Linked DNA regions of Homo sapiens: region 1 is linked to region 2. Evidence: promoter capture Hi-C in 16 types of primary human blood cells and fetal thymus (Javierre and others, 2016). All regions are on one chromosome and are shown on one strand. The core of a region is centred on a gene start or on the middle of the fragment in contact, and the rest is flanking DNA. Distances in the headings are between cores, read along the strand shown. Region 1 overlaps TTC14-DT (TTC14 divergent transcript). Region 2 holds the start of PEX5L (peroxisomal biogenesis factor 5 like).

What was found. Contacts are between HindIII fragments. The CHiCAGO score rates a contact against its expected background, and 5 or more counts as called.
Region 1: a fragment that was not itself captured here is called in contact with the fragment with the promoter of PEX5L in region 2 in 1 of 17 cell types (endothelial precursors); the score reaches 5.7 in endothelial precursors.

What each region holds. Positions count from the first base shown.
Region 1 is chr3:180,565,714-180,573,024 of GRCh38, reverse strand. All of the region lies in intron 2 of TTC14-DT (TTC14 divergent transcript), which reads left to right. Among named protein-coding and RNA genes, the nearest start is that of TTC14-DT, 33 kb to the left of the region's middle. The HindIII fragment of the contact is 2,184 bases long and covers 1,693-3,876 here.
Region 2 is chr3:180,033,457-180,040,701 of GRCh38, reverse strand. PEX5L (peroxisomal biogenesis factor 5 like) reads left to right here and starts at 3,765. Exons shown (of 15, transcript NM_016559.3): 1 at 3,765-4,123. The coding sequence starts at 4,103. RefSeq lists a silencer at 3,650-3,699. The HindIII fragment of the contact is 2,978 bases long and covers 1,526-4,503 here.

The sequences.
Region 1 (7,311 bases), core at 1,535-4,034, 530 kb before region 2:
GCATATACAATTAATCAGTTGCAGCAAACAATATGGTTCTGAACCAAGCAGAGATTTTAGCAGAGGCGTTAACTCAGTGATCTGAATTTCCTTAGAGTTTTTTCCTGGGCAATTAGAAGACAAGAAGAAAATGAACTTTCCTCCTGGCTTCAGGAGGTGTAACCTCAGACTTTGTCCATCTAGCAGAAGTAGGGACTTGCTGCCTTCCTGTAGATGCTCCCAGACCTCTGGTTACCGGCCATATGAGCCTGGGGGTTTGGTGTGGGGAGGAAATCTACTTGAGCTCCCATACTTTCTCTGAGGGTTGACCTCTAAGGGGAGCTTCCATCCTTTCTGACTAGAGGCCTCTTAGAGAATTCCTTTGGTTTTACCACGCAATGGGCCATTGTCTCAGTTAATCCGCTTTCTCCTGTGAGCCTTAATTATAACACTACAATTTGTCACTTGAAGTTTTATACCACAGAAGAAGCAGTAGTCAAACTAGCCTCAGAGCCCATCCTCTACGATTCCCTTTTCAGCTTTTCTCTTGGCAGCCCCACTTCTCTCTCTACTGTTCATCTCCTCTGAGCCGTTTTCCAAGGGAGTGCTGCAAAGTGAGATTGCCTTTATGTCTGTGGATATCTCGACCCAAGAATAGATGCCAGCTCTTTCTATTCCTCTTTCGGTTTCAAGCCTGTGCCGCTCATAGGCCCAGTCCTACACTCAAAACCTCCAGATTTAACATTTATTTTATTCTGTTTCATCAGACCATCAACACACATTTCTACAAGATCAAATTTTGGTGTAGTTTAGACATTTAGCTAGCATTTATTAAGTGCCTAGGATTTTTCAGGCACTTATGTGTATTTGAATCTTGTGGCAACCAGCAGGTTAAACATTACTAAATTATTTTACCAATAAAGAAACTTAAGTTCTGTGAGGTTAAAAATATTTTTCAAAATTACCTAGCATGTAAATGGGAGGCCCAAGATAGTGAGCTCAGGCTTGTTTAATTCCAATGTCTGTGTTCTTTCTATTGTTATACGGTATCTGAGAGATCAACTTCAGCTTTTGAGTTCCTGGTTAGATAATGCCTTGTAGGACTAGCTAGCACAACTTATTGATATGCAAAGCCATTATCTATGCAACTTTGTCAGCTGTATGTTTTTTTGGTACTTAGAGTGGAATATGGCAGATGTCAGGAAGCAACAGGCATCTGCTGTAGCCAGAAATCGGCACCCACATAAACATCAGTTGCCTAAACGTTTTCTTTAATATATCCTGATATTTCCTCAGAAGTATACCATCTGCTCATGGAATAGATAACCTGAAAAAGTCTGACGCAGTTTTTCTTAAGTTATCTCTTTTCTTATAATGCATTACTTTGGTTCTTATGCATACCTAATCCAATCCTGTACAGAAGCACAAAATATCTGCCAGCTTACCCACATAAAATGGATTAAACATGAGAAGAAAAATAGGTAGAGATTAAGAGTTCAGCCTCTGCTGTTTGACAGACAGTATTTGAAACACTTAGCACAGTGATTAACCTATAGGAAAACTCAATAAATGCTAGATATTTTTATTATTATCTTTTTTTTACTTGCAGAACTTTCTCCCTTACTGTGAGTGGACTAATAATAACGAAGTCAGTTTAATTGATCTTTTATTTTGCCTTATGTAGCATGTAAATTTAAAAAACCAAACTAAGCTTTCCATTCATTCGTTTATTAAGAATTCTTGTTGTGCATCACATATTTTTTTTTCTTTCTTTCTTTCTTTTTTTTTTTGAGACGGAGTCTTGCTCTGTCACCCAGGCTGGAGTGCAGTGGCATGATCTTGGCTCGCTGCAACCTCTGCCTCCTGGGTTCAAGTGATTCTCCTGCCTCAGCCTCCTGAATAGCTGGGATTACAGGTGCATGCCACCACACCCAGCTAATTTCTTTTTGTATTTTTAATAGAGACGGGGTTTCACTATGTTGGTCAGGCTGGTCTTGAACTCCTGTCCTCGTGATCCGCCCACCTCAACCTCCCAAAGTGCTGGCATCGAATATTTTTCTAGTTGCTAGGAAGAAAATGTTGAGCAAAAAGAGAAGGTCCCTGTGCTCAGGGCCTTAGAGTCTAGTGTGAAAAAGAGAGAGTAAGCAAATGACCACACACATACATGTATACTTACAGAGAGAGGGGAATGAGAAGTAGGGCAGAGGTTTCTGTTGGTAGTGAGGAATTTGACTTCATATATGACATGTGAATTGAGATCCATAAGATGAGTAGGATCTCACTAAGGGAAGAGAAGTGAAAGGTAAATTATTCTAGAGGAAACGATATGTTCATTGCTCCTCCTTTCTCTTCCTTTCCTCCTTCCTCAGTTCCTCAAAGCTCATGACGGCACCAGGGGTAATGCACTGTATGGTTCTTCCAAGTGTTAAAAATACTGAAAATCTTTCATTACGTTGGTAAAGAGTTTCTGCAGCAAAATCTCTGAGTGGGTCCTCCCTAGTCTTCCCTCTGCCTTGGCTGCCCTAGACCCTTTCCCAGAACCCACCAGAGCCCCCCATAATCAGCAACTAAATGGTTGATGCCTGCTGCAAAAGAGGCACTCGGGGACCTACTTCCTCATTCGGGCTGGAGTCTGCTGTATTAGATTGGTGCTGGTGCCATGTTCGTTGTAAAATATTTTGAATGTCACTCATTGATACAATATCCACAGTTTCTCTAGTTAATCTCCTGGGAGAGATATAAAGAAGTGATAAATTACCTACCTAAATCAGTCTCAAGAGTTATTTGCTTTTCTTTTAATTCTTTAAATTTGCTTATAGTTTTTAATTTATTACCTACAACCTTTGAAGCTAACAGCAGAGAAACTATCTTGCCCTTTGCATGAATTACTATGTATCTCACTTTAATTCCTTGGCTCATTGTGATCATATTTTACCTTTGTGTTACTTATTTTAATGACAGAGTCACAGAAATTTTACTCTATCCTCCAAATACAGTTTAAAATATATAGATCTAATCACAGTAGAAGGTAAGCAAGAGAGCACAACTTCAAATCTATTTCTAGAGGATTAAATTCACAGTTCTGGTTAGCAAATAAAAAGACTATTGCTTTTCATACTGTTTTGGAAATTGAGAGCTAACTGTTGTGGTTGAACTGAGATATCAGCCAGTGTAGAAAATTTTAGTTTTATTATTGCCTGTACATATGGATGTCAAATCCTAGATGTTGCAGTGGGATATTTAATAAAAAGAAAAATGGGTTACATCCAGTATATTGTCCTTTAACTCACTAAATTTTCCTTATTTCTGTAGATGTCTAAGTGAGGAATGGATGCTTTTAGCATGTGAACGGAATCTTCTAAGGCCCTTTCCTGAATGATCACTGGAAATAAGGGCTTCTTTTTCAACTTCTCTCTGTTAGCTGTGTTTAATCTATTTGATTTTTCTTTATGAAGAAGTCGGGTTTGTGGAAGCAGCAGCCTTACCTTTCCATACATTATGTATGCACGCCACCTAATTTAGCACAGGTTTTAACAATACACGATATCAGTAATTATTCCAAAGTTTCCATCTGAGCTAACAAACTTCAGTCCTAGCCAGCAACTTCTCACTTTTAATGATGAATAGAGAATAAAAGACTGCTGCACAGGTTGTGTTTGTTACTTAACAAAAATTCTCAGGGAAGCCTAGAAAAGTTTCCAGAGGTTGTGATGAGCAGAGGAAGCAGGGGGCAGCTTTCATTTCTACATCTCCACATGGCAGGAGATTTTAATGCAGTAATTATCTTAGTGTTTAATGCTAATGAGTTAACTCTCATCTAACAGATATATAGCAGTTATATTTTGGTAGGAAAGAATACAGAACATCACCACAGAAGTTCAAAGACTTCAGGAAGCTTTATTTAGATAGCAAAATATATTCCATGACAAAAACAAACTGAATAATGAGAAATGAAAAAATGTGTCTACCTCAAAGGAAAGAGAAAACAGCAAAGCCTCCTCACGCCATACCAGGAAAAGAGAAAACGAGAGAGGAGTGCTACTGCAGGTGGAGCATTTACCTCCTTAAGAAAGGTGCTGTTATGGGCCACCAATTCCAAGTAGTCTGCCCTAAGATAGATGAGTGGTGAAGTCTATTCAGAATCTGACAGGGTCAGGTCCTGTGAATATCATGGTATCAAAAAATGATGGAGCTCGGAGGAATTAATTCACTTGGTTAATTGAGCATTTACTATTATAGCTGCCACTGTCCAAGCACTGAAGGTAAAGCAGTTAAAAAGGTACCCTAGGCCTGTATCCTCAAGGTTATTATCAAATACATTTTGAATGTAATTTCAGGTAACTGCAAATGCTATGAAGAGAAATGAAGTCTGAGGTGTGGGGATTGTGACTGAAGGGCTGAGTTGTTTTAGAGAGGGTAGTCAGGAATTGCTCTTTGTGGAAGAGACATTTAGTCAGGGGTCTGAATGATGTGAAGGTGTCAAATGTATAAATGTCCTTGGGAAGAACATTCTAGGCAAATAGAAATGCCAGTTCACGGGACCTGAGGTGGGGGTGAGTTCACATATTTGAAGAACAGCCAGAAAGCTAGTGGAGTAAGTTAGGGAGAGTGGGTAAGGATGAGATGAGAGAGGTAGTCAGGCTAGATCATGTAGTATTTTATTCAAAATTTGATGGGAAGTCACTGAAGATTTTGAGTAGGGGGAGGGGTGATGTGATCTACCCCATGTTTTAAAAATGATTACTCATATGCTATAAGGAGATGAGACTATAGAAGGGTAAGTAGAAAAGCAGGAAAGCCAATAGGGAGGCAATTGCAATATTCCTGGTGATGATGAAGATGGACATGCACTAAGTGGTAGTAGTAGAGTGGTGAGAAATGGTTGGATTCTGGATTTATTTTGATGGCAAACCTAATAAGACCTGCTAATGGGCTATGGGGTGAAAGAAAGGCAAACATCAATAATGATTCTTTGATTTTTAGCTTAAGCACCTGGGTGAATATTGGCAACTTACTACTATAAACTGAGAAACCAGCCTTAGGAAAGATGCTGTTGTCAGAACTTATTATCCACTTTACCTCAAAAGACCATCAGGGTCTCTTAATCTCTGCCATGACCAGCTACCTAAATCTGTCAGGTTACCCATCACCAGAGGGGCATGGCTCTGGAGTGAGACTGGGTTCAAATCCTAGCTCTGCTATTTACTATATGTGTAACATTAACAAGTTACTAACCTGTCTGTGACTCAGTATACTCATCTGGAAAGTGGGGATGAAAACAATGGTGCTTACCTCATTTAGTTTGGGTGGCAGTTATTGTATGAGTTTACATATAGCTCTTCAACAATGTGGCATATGGTTATTGTTCTTTTTTTTTTTTTTTTTTTTGAGACGGAGTTTCGCTCTGTCGCCCAGGCTGGAGTGCAGTGGCGCGATCTCGACTCACTGCAAGCTCCGCCTCCCGGGTTCATGCCATTCTCCTGCCTCAGCCTCCCGTGTAGCTGGGACTACAGGCGCGCGCCACCATGCCTGGCTAATTTTTGTATTTTTAGTAGAGACGGGGTTTCACCGTGTTAGCCAGGATGGTCTCGATCTCCTGACCTCGTGATCCGCCCGTCTCGGCCTCCCAAAGTGCTGGGATTACAGGCGTGAGCCACCGCGCCCGGCCGGTTATTGTTCTTTAAGTTAGCTGTTATCACACAGACTTTTCTGTCCATAAGCCATGCTTATATCTTAGACCTTATTATTGCTAATAATTGGAGTACAGTCTATATGGAGCTCTGGAGGCTTCATTTATTCAGGAATTTTTTAGGCTATTCAATTCAACAATTTCAACTTGTTAAAAAATTGTTTTTGACAGGTATGTAATCTAGGCCATAGAGAAGTTAAGTGAGTTGACAGAGGTCGCAGAATTAATTAGTGGCTGAGCTGGAATGCCTACTTGGATCATTTTCACTGCATTTTTACATCTCTGCCTTTCATTTAATTTGAATTTCTTGAGTTTTCTGTATCCTATCAAATTTCATATCCCTTATTGATAAGGTCACTTAAAGATTTTTGAAATGTCATTGGTCATTAATAGTGTCAATCACACATAAATCATATTTGGCAATTTTTGAGTCATATAGGCTTATAAATGTATAAATCCATTGGACATTACATTTGTGTTTTGTTTTGTTTTTAGCAATAACAAGCAAGATTCAGAAGTCCAACAAGTAAGACATTGATTTCATTAAGAGAGAACTAGTAAGCAAGCTATTTGGGAAGTACACTCTCATAAGAATATTGTTTCATGAAGTCTTGAGCAACAAAGGAAATAGTAAGTAAGGAGAGCAAAATGGGGGAATCACTGTGCAGGGAAACAGAAAGTACGTACTAGGCATGAGTTCCTGACATAGATTCTAGTTCAAATGTTAACCAGTTGTGCTATGTCAAAGAAGTCATTCAACCTCCCAGTTCCTTAGTGTTTTGCATGTAAAATGAGGGGAGGGAGCCAGGTGATCTTGGGATCTGTGCCATCACTAGACTGCTAAGGTAAGGCTTAAGTGATCTTGTCACCATTTTACATTTTGTTCATTGATTCTTATTCAAAGGAGTCATATGTAGAACCATTTGAAAATATTGGCTATAGATAGCTTAGGAGTTGAAGGAAAGTGTTAAAAATAGAATTAAATAAATGGATTTTCTCTGAGCAAAAGGCTGTCACAGACTCTGAGGACTAGTATAAGGAGTGAACAGCAGGGTGATTTTAAGAGCTCTTCTTGGGAAATTTCGTGACTATCAGACTCAACATTAGTCTATCCTTGCTGTGTCCTGCCCTGACCTTGTGTGCTATTTGTAGTTATGCCTCTAAAGTCTGGCATTTTCCTCCCAAGCCCAGACTAAGACTTTATTTGCTTGCACAGGTCCATGAAGTGCACTGCTGTCAGACTCCCTCTAAGAATACTTCAACTGCTCATGAAGCGGGGGGCCTTAACTATTTACTTCTTTTGGAAGCCTCCATCTGGCCCATCTATCTTTATTCTCCCAGGATCACAGGTACATTGTGATTATTGTACTTTCTTTTGCTGACCAAAGTCAGTTTTATCTCTCAGTCTGCTCATTAGATGGAGCCATCTAGTCCCTGGACTCTGTCATCCCTGCTGGAACTTCTGAACCCATTCTGAAGCAGGGTCCCAGAGTTTTTTTTAATCTTCTCCATAGTTCCTGGGTCTGCAGGGGTTGGACCATTCACCAACACTTCCCAGCATTGTCTCTAAAAGCCTACTTCTTCATCATGGGCTATCTGGTGAAAGGCCTGGTTTATTTGTTCATTCTATTTTCAGAAATGAG
Region 2 (7,245 bases), core at 2,516-5,015:
CCAGGAATAAGAAACTCTAGAAAGTACACTTAATATTAAAAGCAATATTGGATCACTGAAAAAACATTGTCCTAAAGAGTAAACAAATATAGTGTAATTTCTTAAATTGGTTTAATAGGAGGCCCAGCTCTGAAGCATCCAGCTTGTTTGTTCATTTGGAAGAACATTGCTGCCATCTCCTCGTCATCAGAGTCCACATACTCTTATTATTCATAATTCTTCCTGGCAGCCTGGGGTTCCCAAATTTTTTCCAGATCAAATGCCCTGAAACACCAGCTAATCTCATTCTATGTGTCGAAGAGACAAAAAGGGTAAGTGGGCAAACTTTAACAAAATGTTCCTCCTTCTGATTGAACAACAAATACCAATTAGTCATTTTAATTTTGGTCTACAATTATTTTGACTTTTGTTCTCTCCTGCACCATCTTTCAGCACCAGAGTTTGAATTCTACAGATTATGAAAGAATGATTGAATCATCAAAAGACTCTTATCTCTGATTTTTAAGTCCACAAGAACACTAACCTCATCATTTTTACTAAGTTTTTTCAAAGATTTAATAAATCCTGAATTTTCAATACCCATTTGAAATGCAGGAGGATTCGCTTACTAATAAGCAAAATTAAATTTTGTCAATACAAAATAGATTCTACTGCTACCTCTCAATTATTTAATTGTATTACAGTGATTAAAATTGCAGTGGTACTAAGCACATTTCTTGCTGTAAGAAAGCTGAATGTGCTATGATTTTATGCCAAGTCCACTGACCACTCAAAATACAGTGAGATTATTTTATAAATGGAGTGCAATATGCATTCTTCTTCTCTAGTGGTACTGAGGTTGCTCATGTGTTATCACTGCAAAAGGCAAGAGCTAGCTTTGCCACATATTTACATGAATAAATAAACCTTCTAGGCCACAGTGCTGGTCAAATTTTATGGTGCATACAAGCACCTGGGGATCTTGTTGAAACGCATATTCTAATTCAGTAGGTCAGAAATGGCACCCAAGAGTCTGCATTTCTTACAAGCTCCCAGGACATGCTGATGTTGCTGGTCCACACACCACGTTTTGAGTAACAAGGGTCTTCAAATTTAATTACAAAATAAATCTTTTGTAAAATATTTTTCTGGACCTAGCTTATTAGACATGCATTGTTTCTGAGGAAAATAAAGATAATTCAAATCTCATTCCTAGTCTAAGAAATAGTCTAGGAAAGTGAAAGTTAAGCTTAACCAATCAGAAACCACAAACTAACCTCTAACTATGGACTTTCCATTAGAATGATCCAAATAAATCCAGTATTCCTCTTTAACCAAATAATTTCTTTGCTCTGCTTCCACATTTACCCTATAAAATCTTTCCCTTTAACGACTTCCGACAGAGTCCCCAACTGCTTTCGGTCTGCTGCTGCCTGATGCATGAATGGCTATTTGCTCAAAAAACCCTTTAAAATTTTAATGTGCCTTAGTTTATCTTCTAACAGAAGGAATAAGTGTGAAGAGGAATTCTTCACAAAGGAAAGCTTTCACTCCTGAGATTTTGAGAATGTAGGCAGTAACGAAATCAGTGACTCAGGTTTAAGAAGAGAATATATTGAGTTCTAGCTTCAACACTAGGCAGTTGCCATTCTGATCCAAATGCTTTTATGGTTGTTGGCTCCTTGAACCTGCCGTTAGATAATAACAAGCATATAATGGATTGGAAAACTTTGACCCTATTGTTACTTCACAGATTTCTAGTACTTTTAAATCAAAGCACTATACTTTTCCCAGTTTTTATATAACATGATAGTATTATATGATAATTAGTACCATTTTAAAATCTGCAGTACTTGAGGTCTCAGAAAATCAGTCCTCATCTTTTCTGAACTGGGAAAAAAAAGTCTGTTTGCATATTCATATATCATGGTTGGTAATTTACAACTTCCTTTGCATACATTCAGTCCTCAGCAGCTCTGTGCAGCACACTAGGTAGATATTTGTCTTATTTCAAAATTGAGGAAATAGAGAGTTGGTACACTTGCCCAAGAGAGCATTGAGGTAGTGAGATGGAACTAGCACCTCTTGTTGCTGACTCCAAGTCCTGTGCTTTGTCCTATAAAGAACAATAAAATAAGAACTGGATGACATTTTACAGTTTACAGTGCTTATGAACATATCTCTATTTTCAGGGTAAAAAAAATAAGTTTTTTATACAGAGTTTAGACATGAAAAAACTGATGTCCAAAGTAGTAAAAGGAAATTGTCCAAGGGTAACTACTAGTGGAATCTAATAGGAATCCATGTCTCCTGCTTACAGGTCTTAGTCCTTTTGTGTTTGTTTGGTTGGTTGTTTTAGGACCTCAGATGCATTGAATTGGTTCATTTCACATCCTTTTGTTCATTTCACATTCTCCTCATTAGTCCATACATGGTTCTATTTTATTTAGTTACACAGTAATTTTTAATAGGATATTAGGTGTCCTATGAATCACTACCCGGCATAGAAGATAAGACATTAACATCTAAACTTCAAGTGAAATGCTTCCCCATCTATTTCCCTGCCTCCCTTCACCCAGGGTCACCAACACTCTGAACACTATATTCATTGTTCCACTGCTTTCCTTTTTATATTGTTGTATATGAATATATGAATACACATTGACATTTCTAGGGATTTTTTAAACTTTATAAAAAGCATATTATGCTATATGCAATATTTTGGGGATATCATGCTGTACATAATATGAGGGGCCTGTAGAATTGGAGATGTTTTTACCAACAAAATTAGGTAATCACAGTATACACCACCCCGTGGTGTGTGTGTATATATGAACATTTATTGTGTAGACACATCAAACTACCCAGTCTCAACTTGAGACATATTTAAATGCACTCTTCATATATGTGTGTATGTGTGTGTAAGTGTATAGTAGTAAAGGTCTATTCATTCAGCAAATATTTATTGTGTGCCTGCCATGTGTCAGGAAGTACTAAATACCTTACTGTGCACACACGTGCAAAACCAAGTGCAACACTCCACCCCCCTAAAAAAAAGTCCCTGATCTCATGGAAATAACATTGTACAGAGGGAGAGACAGACAGTACATAAAATAAATATGGAAAATATAAAGGATGTTAGGTGATGTTACGTGCTAGGGAAAAAAATAAAACATGCCAGATCCTCAGGGACTAGGGTTTGCCGTTTTAAATAGAATGCTCGGCGATGAACTGGGGATGAGGGGAGCGGGGAGTCTTTATTTAACGGGTGATACGGACGTAACTTTCGAGAGCTGAATCAGAACCGAAGTAAACTCTTCGGCAACCCCTGCACTCAGCCTATAATGTCTGTAGGATAACAGGCTCAGCCGCGGTGGATGGCCCCCGGAGAGACGATGCATGTCTTCCCGCCTTTCTTCCGGCCGGCCATCCTCTCCGCTAGAATCGCCCTGCCCGCCGACGCCGCACCTGAACGCCGCGCTGCTGCGGGCGTTGTACACCAGCGCGACCACCGCCTGCCGGCACCTCGCCTTGCCGCCGCGCGCGCGCAGCCCCGAGGACGCGCTCGGGGAGCGCGCACCGCCCGGGGCCGCCCTCGGGCCGCTCCCAGGCCCCTGGGAACGCGCGCGCGTGCCCGGTCCCGCGGCCTCTCGGCAGGCACGCGGCTGGGAGAACGGCGCGCGCCCCGCTCGGCAGCTGCGGCGGCGGCTGGTGTAGGCGCTCACGTCAGGGCTGGGAGGAGGGGGTTCGCAGCTCAGAGAGAGAGAGACATGAGGCAACCTGGCAGGAAGCGAGAAAGAGTTCGGCGAAGAAGGAGTGAGTTCTAGAGACGCCCCGCGAGCAGGACCCGCGCCTGCAGGAGAGCCTGGCCGACCCGGCTCCTCGCCTTCTCTGCGCGCTCTCCCGCGTCCGCTTTCAGCACCCCGAGCGGAGAACAGTTCCCGGCAGCCCGCAGCGCTGCCGAGTGGCCGCCGGCCGGCCGAGTACCCGGAGCTCCAGGGGGCTCAGGAGCACCCTCTGAGAACCCGCTGTGCACCCACCTTTTCCCCTCTTTTGGTGGGCAAGTAAGCACGGGGGAAAAGCATCCGGTGGCCTCAGGGAGCCCTGAAGAAACCGAAGCAGAATGTACCAGGGACACATGCAGGTAAGACATTTCTATAGGGCTGGAGAGAATTCTTGGGGGCTAATTTAAGAGCAAGGCGGTTCACCAAGTTTCTGTGGTCAAGTGCTGCCTTCGCACAGCTCAACAAGTGAAGTGATGCAACATGACCGTGACATTTCTGTCCGGTGCTGCCGGGAAAACTAGACCGGTTTCCGAAGGTGGGAGAAGGGGAGGGAAGACCTCAGAACTTCGATTGGGGAAGTTTGTTTTCTGTGCATTCCCTGAGCCTGTTTCTTTAAACAGGATCAAGGAATCGAAACAGAGGAAACCCTAGAGATGACCGTGTTTCCGTTGTAATCCTATTGATGCATCTCAGCATGTATGTCAACTGAAGGGCAAACAATAATAGGAAAGACAAAGCTTTTCCTTTACCATCTGAAAAGGTTGCTTGACTTAGAACACTCTGTCACTTTCGTTTCATTTTTTAAAGTGTTATATTTAAAAAACGATTTATAGTGTATTTTCCCCCTTCACATTATGGGACATTGCCATCTACTCCAATAGTCACAGGATGACTTGGGAGGATGAATTTCAAACACATGTCCAAGGAGCTCTAATGTTTTTCAGGGGAGGTGCTGCCTCCGGTTGTTATTAATATTCATCTGAGCTGAGCCGCTGCTTCTTTCCGATGCAAACACACTCTACTCTCTTGGGCAAGATTACTTTAACCTTGACTCCAGTTCTCATTCATACGGTTGGTTGGTTCTTATAAAGGCAGATATATGCTTTGGGAGAAAAATAAAATACTAACTCAGCTTTCTAAAGTATGAACTGGACTCTTTATCGCACCTAAATGGTTTAGTCATCAGGTTTGATGTTTGGGCTTCCTTTCCATTCCAAAGATGGTCAAATACAATCATTATGTGTGATGCCTTTATCCTGGTGTATAACATTTATGAATACTGAGGATTTTGCTTCTGTGTCTTTTAGAGCAATTGGAAATAGATAAATATGTTGTTATATTTATGACTTAGTACTACCCAGATTTAATTTCCATAACTTAGGGAAATTCTTTTGGACTATAATCCATTTTTAAATAAAACACAATATTTCATCATAGTCTCAATTTTTATAAGAATTCTCAATATACAGTGCCAGAATTCCAAAAGATTTCCCGTATGACTAACATCATCCTGTTTTGAAAATTATTAATGTGATTATATCACATTTGATAGACAAAAAGTAGTGAATGAAGTATATTTTTAAATATTATATATGATCAATGTGATCTGCATGTTTCTTATAAAAGCTACACCAATTGAAAAGTTAAGTAACATAGAAGAATTCAAATAATGACTGCTGAAAAAATTAACAAAGAATTATTACTATAGTTTTATGCTTCATCTTCACCCAAGAATGATACTTACAATTTTATATATTATCTGTTTTTTAAACAGTTTCTTCACAAGGGTAAAACAGGAAGATTTTAATAGAGTCAACCCTCAAAAAATTGTTCATTTACACAAAATTGACAATTGACCACTAAGGGGAAATTAACAAAAACTTTGCACAGTATTGTTTTGTTGCTTAAAAAATATGTTACTGTGAATGAAGAATCGAAGCAACAATATGGTAAATTCATGCACCCAAAAACAATTTTAACTCAATTTTCTCAATATCTCAAAGGAGAATGTTATTGAAACTTGAGTTGCCTGGAACAATGTCTGAGGGTTTAATTTCACTTTGAAAGAATAAACAAAATATAAGACTCTGCATATTCTCCCAACTTAATGTCTTTTGCTTGTGCACTGCTGTAACAGCAAATATGATGACTTGCAGTAAAACTCACAAATCTTTGCTGCCAAGCTTAAATTAAAACATTACTAAATAAAGACTGTAATCAATACATCCACCAAAATTTCAGAGCATAATACTTTTTTCCTACTTACTATTAACCATTAATGTTAAGCATAAAACTTCCGAGGCCTTAGTAGGTACGTTTAGTAGTTATTCAATAGTATGATGATCTGAATGGGCATCTGCTCCCCCCAACAAAAAAATACCTATGACAGATTGATTCATAATATACTTGTTGGCTTACATTTTAAACTCATATCTCTTCCCCCAAAGAATATTATTTAGCCTATGGACAAAATAACGTTTCCTTATCAGAGATACTATCATCTTCCTGTGTGTACCTGACTCTAATCACAGATAAGAAGAAACACATTCCAAACACTCCAAAATGTGTATGATTAAAATCTGAATCCATATTTGGTAAAGTGGACCAGGGATAAGCAGATTTACTAACATTTCTGCCAGCTTTGGAGTTAATTTGAAACATAATGTTACTTGACTGATACCTTAAAACAAGAGTGAAACAGAAATGTTTGCAATCTTTTGCTATGCATTCTAATTCTTCTCTTTTCTGTATCCAAGAGACTTTAAAATAAAGTGCTTTGTAAATTAGCAGTTTGAAGTAGGGGCAGGTGTTCTCAGGAAGACTTAAAAATAGTCTAATTTAAAACTCCTGTGGTGCCTTTGTTTTTGCAACTTAATGATTTTGCAGATAAAGTCTATTAATTCTCATACATATGGCTAATTCATCTGGTTTATGGTAGAATCTGAATTCATTTTAGAAACCGCAGACTTTTAAAAACACACATTTGGTTTGCTCTGCTAGTTCATTAGAAAATAAAAGTTGGCATCTATTACAGATAGAGCATAGAGTAACAGATATTTCTTGGTTTCATAGTAAAAGCCGCAGGTATATTTCTTAGGAGCAGGGTCCTGGAGCTATGTTTTTATCCAGCTGCCTTACCAATTATTTCCAAGGGGAGTTAGTCACCCCAGTAAATGAAGCAAAGGTTGCTTCTTTTGTGACTGTTTTAGATTTACTTATTTTTTTCTTTTGACCAAGGGCACTGATGATGATTGAATATACTTTAGCATCGGTTCTGACAAAACTCTGTTGCTCATTGAGGGCCTATGGTCTTAATTCCACCAATACCTCTGTATGTTCAGGGCTGAGGTGATTATTTGCCTATGTGCATTTGAGTTAACATTTCCAGTTAGAGGAAATTATTACATGTCTCTCAATGTTTTCTTAACCTAGCTGTTTTATTTCTGGGGTGGTATAAATACAGAGAAATATAATTTCAATT